2 separate regions of the Homo sapiens genome follow, and region 1 is linked to region 2. Evidence: promoter capture Hi-C in 16 types of primary human blood cells and fetal thymus (Javierre and others, 2016). All regions are on one chromosome and are shown on one strand. The core of a region is centred on a gene start or on the middle of the fragment in contact, and the rest is flanking DNA. Distances in the headings are between cores, read along the strand shown. Region 1 has its middle 210 kb from the start of LINC01052. Region 2 holds the start of PCDH9-AS1 (PCDH9 antisense RNA 1).

Region 1 (5,535 bases), core at 1,439-3,938, 650 kb after region 2:
AAAAAGGAACACACTATTGATGCATTTCATCACTTGAGTGGATCTCCAGAGAATTATACTTATTGAAAAAAGAAAATCACAAACAGTTACATATTATGTAATTAAATTTATATATGTTCTTCTAATACTGCAATTGTAGACATGAATAACAAATTAGTAGTTGCCAGGAGTTAAGAGATTGGGACCTCTCTTAAGAGAAGGGTGAGTTTGGCCATAAAGGTATAGCACAAGAGATCCCTGAGGTAATGGAACAGTCCTTTATCTTCAATTGTGGTGGTGAATGCATACATCTATGCATGTAAAAAGTTGCATTGCACTACCTATGCATAGTAATATATGTAAAAACTGATTAAATGTAAATAAGCTCTGTGGAACCAATATCAATTCTCTTGTTTTGGCATTATCTGTAATTATTCAATGTGGTACCACTGCGGGACACTGGGTGAAGGGTAGAAAACGCCTCCCTGTACATTTTTAAAACTTCCTATGAACCTATAATTATTTCAAAAGAAAAATTTAATAATGCAAGAATAAGTGTGCAGGATCTACTTAGTTTTTATCCTCTAAAAATGTTAATCTAGGCAGTGAGAAATTTGGTAAGACCAGATATTATAAAAAAACATAAAAATAGTAGGATAAGAGTATTATGAGAAAATTTAGCATAATGTATTCAATTAAAATTGAATAGGGCTTAAACTTAATGAAAAAATAAAGCAAACGTTTAGTAGTAATTGTCTGCTATACTATACTTTAAGATTGATACTCAACATAATATGTTTTGAATCCACCATCTACACCACAGTGTACTTACCTTCTTGACAACCCTTATTTTTTACCAGATATATTCTCCAATAAAGATGAGCAGATGAGTCTCAGTGTCTGGGAAAAGGGAATATGGTTTCAAATAAACAATAGCACAGGCAAGAAAGAGATAATGACTAAAGAAACAGCCAACATTTGAAGAGGAAATATAATGCCCTTAAGTTTATGTAGGAAAAGGAAAGAAGCAAGGAGTGAGAATAGAGACAAAAGGTCAGTAAAAATTATGTTGGTTCTCTTCACTGTAGTATCATAATTCAGATTAAAGGGCAATTGGATCACTCATTAGGTTTGGGAAACTTCTCATGCAATGTAGCTTTCCTCATGTTTCTCAAGATGTAGTTTGGAAAGTTCCTTGTGCCCACATTACTCATGGCATCTGAACTACAGGGTATCCCATGCCTTGGATTAGAAGTAGATGAGAAATTATAATTGGAAAGAAAGAATTAAGAGCACCGTCACAGAGACAGGTTTTCTCAGTTCTGCAAGGACAGCAACATGCTAACAAAATGGGTAGGTCCTAATAGGCCTGTCATTAAGATCAGAAAGTAGTACAGGAAGAACACGAGAAAGGAAGCTGTGTACAGTCCATGACCCTCCAGAGAAGAAATTTTGCTGGAAATCCGTGTTGACTGGTAGAGACCAGTTGAACCTGAGTAAGTAAGAGCTCAATCAGAAGAGATTAAACATCAGTCCTAACATCAGGACTCAAGGATGACTCAAAAGCATCCATTTTCGTCTGAACTGTGTCTTGCCAGAATTCATATATTGAACCTCTAACAGCTAATTTAACTGCATATGGAGATAGAACCTTTAAGGAGGTTAAATGAGGTCATGTGAGTGGGATCCTAATCCCACAGGATGGGTGTCTTTATAAGACATGGATGAGACTCCAGAGAGCTCTCTGTGTCATCAGAGAAAAAGGCCACAGAGGGACACAATGAGAAGATATCTACAAGCCAAAAAGTGTGGTCTCCCTAGAAACCAATCCTGGCAATACTTTGATCTTGGATTTCTAGCCTTCGGAAAAGTGGAAAAATTAATATCTGTTGCTTCAGGCATCCAGTCTGTGGTATTTTGTATGGCAGCCCTGGTAAACTAATACACCAACCTCTAAAAATCTTTCTAAATTTTCTTTGCACCATATTTTGGAAATTTTCTTATTAGATAATGAAAGAAAATTTAATGACATTATAAATGATATATAAAATATGTAAGGGAAAAAGTTTGATAGGCATAACTCTGCATATAAACTTTGAATTGATTAGTTTATTTACACAAATCTGATTTAAACCAAAAGGGACTCCTTTTGTTTAAAAAAATGTTATTTTTAATTCGAACATTAGTTTTCCTTAAGAAATGAGTGTAAGTGATGTTAATAGCAATATTAAGATGAGCTCTAGATAAGATCTAAATAGATATTTGGCATAACTCAGTTGTAGTTTAGCAATTTAAACCATATCACCCAGTTTTTAACATCTGCAAGAAAAAAAAGTTATCCCAAAAGGATAAAAATATGCATGTGCCGTAGATTTATTAAAATAATAGTAATTATTTGCCATAAAAATTTATTATAGACTTTCTATAATTTTGGGATTGTGATATCTTATACTTTAGTATAAGCTTATGAATATATACTTCCTCTTAATCTTGTACCTTTATTGAGTTTGATATCTTTATAAATCCTTTATGTTAAATTTATAGTGTGATACTAAATTTCAGATTAATGTAATGGGTCTCAACATTTTCAGTCATTCTTATCAACAAGAAATAGGTTATAAATATTATCACATAGTAAATGGAATGGTGTTCTCTAGCACCATCTAGCTTACTTTTTGAGCAATTCACAGCAACAAAATTTAACAATTGGATAACAATTTTAGATAGTATAACTATGAAGGTCAATGAAGATAGGTCAAAATGATTAACAGTATTAATGCCATTTAAAAAATTACTACATGCACACTGTTGCTTTCTCATAGCATTAAGGGATTTGTCCTCTACTGCTGTCACTGCGTCTTAAAAAAATCATTTTCTATCTGCTAATTGCCAGAAATACTTCATTTAAAACTGTAGGAAGATCCACTTAATTGCCCTGAGTTGCGGATAAGCTTTAGAACTAATGTGTTTTTATATCAATAAAGATTGAGAGCACTATATAAAATAACTCATAATGTTCATCATCTTTATATCATGAAATACATGTCATTGGCATTGCCCTGATAGAAAAAGCTAAGCCATATAGAGAGCAGAGAATTCAAACTTACACTTAGTTTATGAAGACAGGTAGTCATAGGAAAATCACATCCAATGTTTGCCAAGTATCTTCTAGAAGAACGTATTTGAATTAATTTCTGTTTGTGATACACTAGCATATTTACTAGTAGTTTGCATTTAGGTGACATAATTTAAATTTATCAATTCTGATTGTGGGTGGCCACTTTTCATTTTATTCTACAATACCTTCACGTTGCTATTTAATCTCTAGTTGTTTCTAGCCCTGCAAATCTATTTAGGAAAAAACATAGAACTCTGATAAATGCAAAATATGTGCTAGTACAATGTATAAGAACACTTGATGAATGTTAGCCAGAAGAAAATATTAAAGCAAAAGGGATTTTGAAACCAACTTTGGTTGTAAGAAGCTAATAATATGGATATTCAAGCAAATATTTAAATATTTTGATACATTGTATTTATGAGAATGTAATTTGGCTACCTTATTTTCAGTGAATGCAATAAAGTATGTTTAAAATAATTCATCAGTACTAGAAGTTGTAAAATATTGTTAAATGAGTACATTTTTCCAATATTCTTTAAAAAAGAATCTCTTCCAGATATGGTTGGCTTGAGTTGAAACTTAAAGTGAAATTTAATGGAATTAGTCTGGTTACTCCAATTATATAAAATTCTAAAATATTAGAATAATTAATATTCAATCTTATCAATTCATTTGCTTATTAAACAAGTAATTACTTAATGAATATTATTTACCAGTCACTGTTTTACATGGCCAGGATTCATTTGTACTTAATGCAATTAAAGCACTTGATGTGGTGCTCTTAAAGAGCTTATATGTTAATATGGAGATACAGACAAATTATATATGTATACAGGTGCATGTGTATGTGTGTCATATGCGAGATAGCACTAAGCACTATGTAGGGAATTAAGTGACGTGGTAGTGATTTTCTTTTGAGATAGTGATTTTTAAAATTTCTTTAGATTGCATAGGCAGAAAGATGACATTTAAACAGAAATTTGAAATCATAGAAAAAGGAAGAGGTATATTCCAGGAAATCAGAATACCTATTTTGCAGACTCTTAAGTTCCTAAGAGTTTGTCATATTTCAAAATTACTGCTACAATTTGGGATCAGCATGGAAGGTAAGATAAAAGTGTGATGGGATCTATGGTTGGGGCCAGATCAAATAAGGCTTTCATAAAGAGGGTAAGGAGTTTTGACTTTCATTTCTCTCATCCTCCTTCTCATCTTCGTTTCTTCCTTCTTTTCTTCCTTCCTTTCTTTTTTTCTTTATTACGGTAAACCCTGTGAGAGATGGTGGTGGCTTTTATTAGGATGATAGGACATATGTAAGGACATGGTCAGAGTCCATATGTGTTTGAACATACTAAAATATATTTTCTGATTAAATAAGTTTGGGAGTGTGTGATTGAGAAAAGTGAAGTATCAAGGGCAGCACAATTAAATTAGGTTTGACAGTTGCTGCTAGTGTTTCCTTAAACATTTTAATGCTAGCGCTGCCTTTTACAAAACTGAGAAACAGGTGGAGGTTTAATTTAAGTGATGGCAGAATCAATATTTCTGTTTTGGCTTTTTCAGTTTTGAGATGTTTTTCTTGTTGAGCCGTCAAGTAAGTAATTATTGATAGGAGACTAGTGTTTGAACGGGAAGTCCCCGTAGAAAATACAGCTTTTGGAACTGTCTACATATTAATGCAATTTATGCTCTAGAAACAAACCTATAAGCCTTCTTAAAACATTTTCAATCACTGTTTTTATGTGACATGAAAAAGAGAAAATTCTAATTTCTATTTAATATTTTCCTATAAAAATAGCATATTGATTATTGGAAATTTAAAGCTAAGTAAGAAAAAAGCATAGGCCAACATGAATGAGCACAATAATTAGTATCTTGGTGTTATCTACAGATTTTCTATGCAGAAAACAAATTATAAAGGTGGAAACTTCATTGTATAACATGATTGCAACTAAAACATCACCAACCACATTTTTTTTCTTTAGTTAGGAAGTAACATTTTAAAATCTAACACTAGCTCCATTAAAGAACACATCTTTACCCCATTTATCATTTTAAAAATGTCTTTCCCCCATGCTATTAATTTTACAGGATTTCGGACTCAACACTCCAATAGATTACATAAGCAGAAGTGATATGTAGCTACAACGGCTCATGCTTAGCTAGATACAGAGTACAGAAAAAGCAGCACACAATGCAAAATACCCAGATTGCTGTCCTCATCCAAACATTTAGCATCTTCTCTGCTAGCCTGTTTTATAGGGAAGGATGCTGCTACTTCCCTATGCTTAATTTAATTTACAATATTTTGCTGATAACCAGGCTTTCATATTTCCCCTCATTATCATCTCAGCATCTGACTTTTTCATTTCTTGATCATTGCCCATAAGATTAAAAAGTCTATTCTGGAGCAAAGCCTTGTTTTTTGCCCTATG
Region 2 (5,505 bases), core at 752-3,251:
TTGCCTGCTGGTGAAAAAAGTAGAAGATAAATTCTATGATCACTTTCTTCCCCCTGAATGTTAGACTCCATGTGATTTAATTTGCAATTTAGCTTCAGTTTTATACCTTAGAAATTTAGAAAATAGTTAAGCTCAGGGGAACTAAACACTGTCTGGATTCAAATGGCTTCTTCTTTACTTGGATTTCAGAATGTTTGCAGCTGACCAGGTGTGTTGTTAGTAAGATACAATAGTTATTCTTTAAAATGAGTATTTAACTTTTCAAAAATGTGACAAAATATTTTCATTTAAAAATAAGGTGTTTATGTAGAAAAAAACAATATTTTATATAATCATTTAGAGTATTTATTTTTAATGATGCTATGTTTCAAGTGGTAATTTTGCTTTTTAACTTAGTGGAGTTGTATTATTTATATATTCTTTAATATTACACATACAAATTGTTCTACTTTTTATAATTTATCATAAATATGAGTTTTTTTCTGGGATTTCTTAGAATATAAATTAGTAATAATCTGTATGCATCATGGTTATATCTGTATACATCATGGTTATACCTGTTTACCCATATCTGTCTTTTTATCTATCTATGTCTTTGGATCTAAATAACTAAATAATGGATTAAGAAGGAAAATATTAATAGATCAATCTTACCTCCCTAACAAATTTGATGCCTTTTGTGTTAATCTTTAAAAGATGGAGAAATATATCTTTGAGTTGCTTGACTTGATACACTTTTATGAAAAAATAAGATCACTAATAACATACTTTTTCTCTAAGATAATTCTAATTGAAAATTTTAACCACTTCCTTTTCTTATTTTCTCTCTCTTGTCTTCTGCAGATGGGCCTTTGGGTCCCCGAGGATTAGCTGAAGCTACAGAGATGTGCACTCAAGAGTGCTTGGTTTTGGGTCACTCTGATAATTGCTGGATGCCTCCTGGCTTGGGTCCATATCAACACCCCAAATCTCCTCTCTCAACCTTTGCACCCCAGAAAGAATGGGTGAAGAAGGACAAGCTTGTGAATGGGCACACCCTGACCAGAGCCTGGAAAGAAGACAGCAACAGGAACCAGTTCAATGACCGTAAGCAGTATGGCTCCAATGAAGGCCATTTCAACAATGGCAGCCACATGACAGACATTCCTCTGGCAAATCTGAAGTCTTATAAGCAAGCAGGAGGTGCTACTGAGAGTCCTAAGGAGCACCAACTCTAAGAAAAGGCTATATGGGACCTAATAACTTTAAATAGACATGCTAATACCGTGTGCGTCAGAGCTTTATGTATTCAATAGATCTCTACAACTATGCCCCTTCTAGCAGGGATACCTATAACTTTGTGTTAGCACCATGGAGAATACAATGTTTTTGCAACATATGAGAGAAGATAGTTCTAGCCATGCAATTTTGTTTACTAGAATTGATTACACTCTCCAGAGATCTCTCCATTGTGCAAATTTTTTTTATTATTGCATTTTATTTTGACCCTGGACTGCTGCTATGAACAATAGAATATGCATTTGGAAAGTAAGAAAGTTTCATGGATTAGAGTGACTGAAAAACATATCCAGTTAGAAAATTGTGCTTTTTTTTTTTTTTTTTTTTTTTTTTGTCATTGATTTGTGCTGGGACTGCTATACTTGACATTATACTGCAAACAAAACTTAAAGAGATAAGCATTAAACCTATTGTGCTGTTAACAACGTTAGTGGACACTTGTAAGTCAATCAGTGTTAAAGTATTTGTAAATAGAAGCAAGCTATTATTAACAACTTTTGTGTACTTATAATGTTCACCTAAAAATGTTGTAGCATAATTCTGTGTTTTATGGTTGCTTCTGTCCTTCTTTTTATTTACCTCTTTGTTGTTATTTTTGTTGTTTCTTTCAGTGAGGTGTTTCTGTGTTAGTAGTCTGTCTTGACACACATTGTTCAAACAATCTCAAGCACTTGTGTTTAAAAAAGGTTCTGAAATCTTGCTTCTCATATGATAGCTTATGATGCCGGAATTCTGTAAACAATAAAGATGAAAGAAAAAATGAAAACTTTATACAAAAAAGGACTTCTGCAAAAGCTTGGAAATTCAGAACCTATTTTTTATCATCTTATTTTCAAAGTAGGCAAAAGCAAAATCACTTAATTAGTACCATTAAGTGAGAGAGTAATGGAAAACTGTTATCCATCAAAAGTGATATAATATCCTGTACTTGTCACTCATGTAAAACTAATGTATCAAAATTAGCATATATGGAAGAAAAATCACTATTCAAAAATAGTTTCAATTGGGCAAATGTGTGTCTACAACTTTGTTGAAATGGCAGAGTCTGTGTTGATCCTCATATACAATAATGTTGTTGTAACACAAGTGTTATTAGACCATAGCCACAAAATATTTAATGTGTTGTGCCTTCATGATGTAACAGAACATTCTCCAGGTAGGGTAGTTGGGGGAAATAAAGGGATAAATCTCTAATTATTGCTGTTTAACTGTTTGTTATCATAGTTGGTCAATGCCTGGCAGGTACCAGCATATTGTCACTTAGGTCAAACCAATAAAGTGACAACTAATGTTAATAAGATCTCAGTTGCACGTGCAAACAAATCCAAATTCGAACATTCTTAGGAGGTTTTTGTTAAGGCATGACAGATGATTTAAACAAATAAATAGCATGCAACAAAATGTCTTTATTGAAAGAAGTGGAAGTTATCTTAATGCCACGGTTCACCATCAATTTAAAAGTAAAAAAAACAAAAAAAAAACAAAAAATTTAAAAAAAAGGTTTGCTAATCTGATAGTTAATTTGTTCTTACCAAAAAATAAAATTACTTTGTAAATAGCAGTTCACATTTTTCCACAGTATAATGGAAAATAATGGGTAGGGGTGCATTGCTTATTGAAGTACATTTTTGTCGGTTTGTGAGGGGTGTTTGATGACTTTGACAGAATAAATATCTAAACAATTATCCTTGTTACTGCTTTGCCAGTTCTACGTTATTTACAATTATTCAGCTCTTGCAATAAATGTTCTGAATTCCTGATTGCAGTGTGTTAATTCTTAGTCAACATCCAAATTGGTTATTTATACTTCTAATTGTTGGGTAAATATATGTTGATAAAATTTAACATTTATTTAGAAATTAAGGAAGATTCATTGGGGTTTAATACCTATCCTTTGAAAATGTGAGTACCAAGATAAGTGTTCAATTACCCTAATGGTCTTCAAAACTATTCTTTAGGGAAATTCATGGAGAAAGTTCATTGACTTTCTGGTCAAGATTCATGCAAATTTCATCAGTGAAATCCCAAGTCAGAAACTGTGCTGGTAGCACTAGTTAGTAAGGTTATTTTTTTATTCTTTGTCTCTTTAATAAGATTTCATGGAACAAACTTTCATTGGCCAAGGCAGAAGATCATTCTGGGATTATGGCCTTAAACCCAGAGTCAAACTTCATCTGTATTTCTTTCAGTTTAGGAAAATAGGCACAGAAAGCTATCAAGGATAAGAAGACACACTCAAACATATGCCATGTGTGTATGCTCACCCTAGAGCAACTGCATCAATGTTCACTCATGCTGGAGTTTTGGGCTAGGTAAGTAAGCCTGACTCTTCAAGCCCTAGAGCTTTTTGGAGGATTATGAAATAGGATTTGGGAGTCAGAGGCATAGTGTTAAAGTTATTTGCCTGGACCATTGTCCGGATATGACATCCTAACCATTCATTCCTAATAAGCTAGACCTGTCCTCTAGTCTGAGGTACACTGCAGCACCACCCTCTTTTCCCTCACAGGAGTAGAGACTGCCCCAAGATACAGACAGGGAATGAATCCTGAAAAGAGGACATTCTGAAAAACAGAAATTAAAATCTATGCCTGCACAGTTCCTTTCTCTATTTTTCACCAATCAGGTAAGTCATTCACCTCTGCCTTGAAGAGTAAAGAGAGAGAAACTAATCTCATATTCTCTCCATGAATAAACTGGAAGTTTGAAAAAGGCATTCACCTTTCCCATTCCTACCACATTTCTTCTAATAAATACAACAATATATAGTCTTATGAAGACATTTGGTTATATGCTCTGGGTAATTTTAAGAGTAATAACATCACAAACCAAACTGAAGAATTTACCCATCAAGTAAATAAAACAGTACATTTGCAATGACCATTCCTTAAGTATCATCTATATTGCTTTATGGTGTTGACATTGGACATAAGAGTCACCATTTACCAGGAAATAAAAGTTATTTACATTACCTAAGAGAGCATACCTATATGAAATGTATAAAAGGATGATTGTTATAAAAATTATCAAATATTATGATGCTATACACTAACAATCTTTGAAGGCACATACAGAAATTAACTTTATAAACCTGAATATGACCTATTTGAATGAGTATTTCTACACATACTCTAACATAAATATATATTTAAATAATGGGTATTCATTAACAGACAATTGAGTAGTCATTTTGCTGCACTGATGCTGTTCAGTGAATCTCATTCAGAATCCCATCATTCCCATTCCGTGGCTAAAGCTACAAATGCAGCTGAGGCCCAGAGTTGTTCCAGTATTTATTAAACTGTTGGATAGAGGCCAGGGATGGTTAATTATTATTAATGAGGAGTTTTGGCAGTAAGGGATGAAAGGGATGCCTTGTCAATTTCAATTTTAATGTAGATGCCAGGGTGTTACTTTGCATGAGGGCAAACCAACCTATGAAAAGGAGGAGTGGTGTTGTGAGTCTAAAAATGCTTCATTGTTCTGCTTTGTTTTAAATAGAGCTGATCTTCCCTCCCTAAAGGAAGCTCCTTTATTTGTTCTTTTGAGAGAGAGTGCTTAAAAATTCTTCCAGTGTTCTTAAAGGCACAGTGATCACATAATAAATCCTCTATACACTTTTCTTATGCTTTCACAGCTACTAATCTAAATTTTAGTAGATATCAGCCAGACTTTGCACTGTTTAAAAAACATAAAATTAGTATCTTAATATTATAGTATTTTATAAGGTATAATATGTACTTGTAAAACATGGTTATCAAAATAATATCTTATTCATATTTTAGTTCACTGAAAGTATAAATTAATGTGTATTCCAAAGGTATCAATTTTCTGTTATACCACTATGTATATTTCAACATAAAATACGGAGCATAATTTCTACCTCTACATATGCATTTTTTATTTCTTAGAATTCTTAAACAGTGCACCATATTGAAATGAGTTCTTTCCGTATTTTTGTTATCTTAACCTATTACTTTGTTCTTGAAGCTTTATAGTAAAAAATCTATTATTTTTAAATAAAAAGCCTTCCATTTTTATTCTCATTTTTTCTTTATACCTTATGACTGTGTTCCTAACAGCACTTGTACAACACAATTATTTTTGGACTCATTCAATGCCACCTACTTAAGGTTCACATATTTGCAAATATATTGAATTACAGTGATTTTTCAAATAATATTACAATCCCATTTAAATTCTTAAATTCAAACACTGTTTTTTATG

The links. The method cuts DNA at HindIII sites, captures the fragments that hold promoters and counts their contacts. A CHiCAGO score of 5 or more calls a contact.
Region 1: a contact is called between a fragment that was not itself captured here and the fragment with the promoter of PCDH9-AS1 in region 2, in 1 of 17 cell types (endothelial precursors). The highest score is 6.6, in endothelial precursors.

What each region holds. Positions count from the first base shown.
Region 1 is chr13:65,654,036-65,659,570 of GRCh38, reverse strand. No RefSeq gene overlaps it. Among named protein-coding and RNA genes, the nearest start is that of LINC01052, 210 kb to the left of the region's middle. The HindIII fragment of the contact is 488 bases long and covers 2,445-2,932 here.
Region 2 is chr13:66,300,367-66,305,871 of GRCh38, reverse strand. It overlaps PCDH9-AS1 (PCDH9 antisense RNA 1), which reads right to left and starts at 2,001. Exons shown (of 2, transcript NR_046528.1): 1 at 1,858-2,001. It overlaps PCDH9 (protocadherin 9), which reads left to right. Exons shown (of 5, transcript NM_203487.3): 5 at 844-3,038. The coding sequence ends at 1,217. The HindIII fragment of the contact is 1,054 bases long and covers 1,022-2,075 here.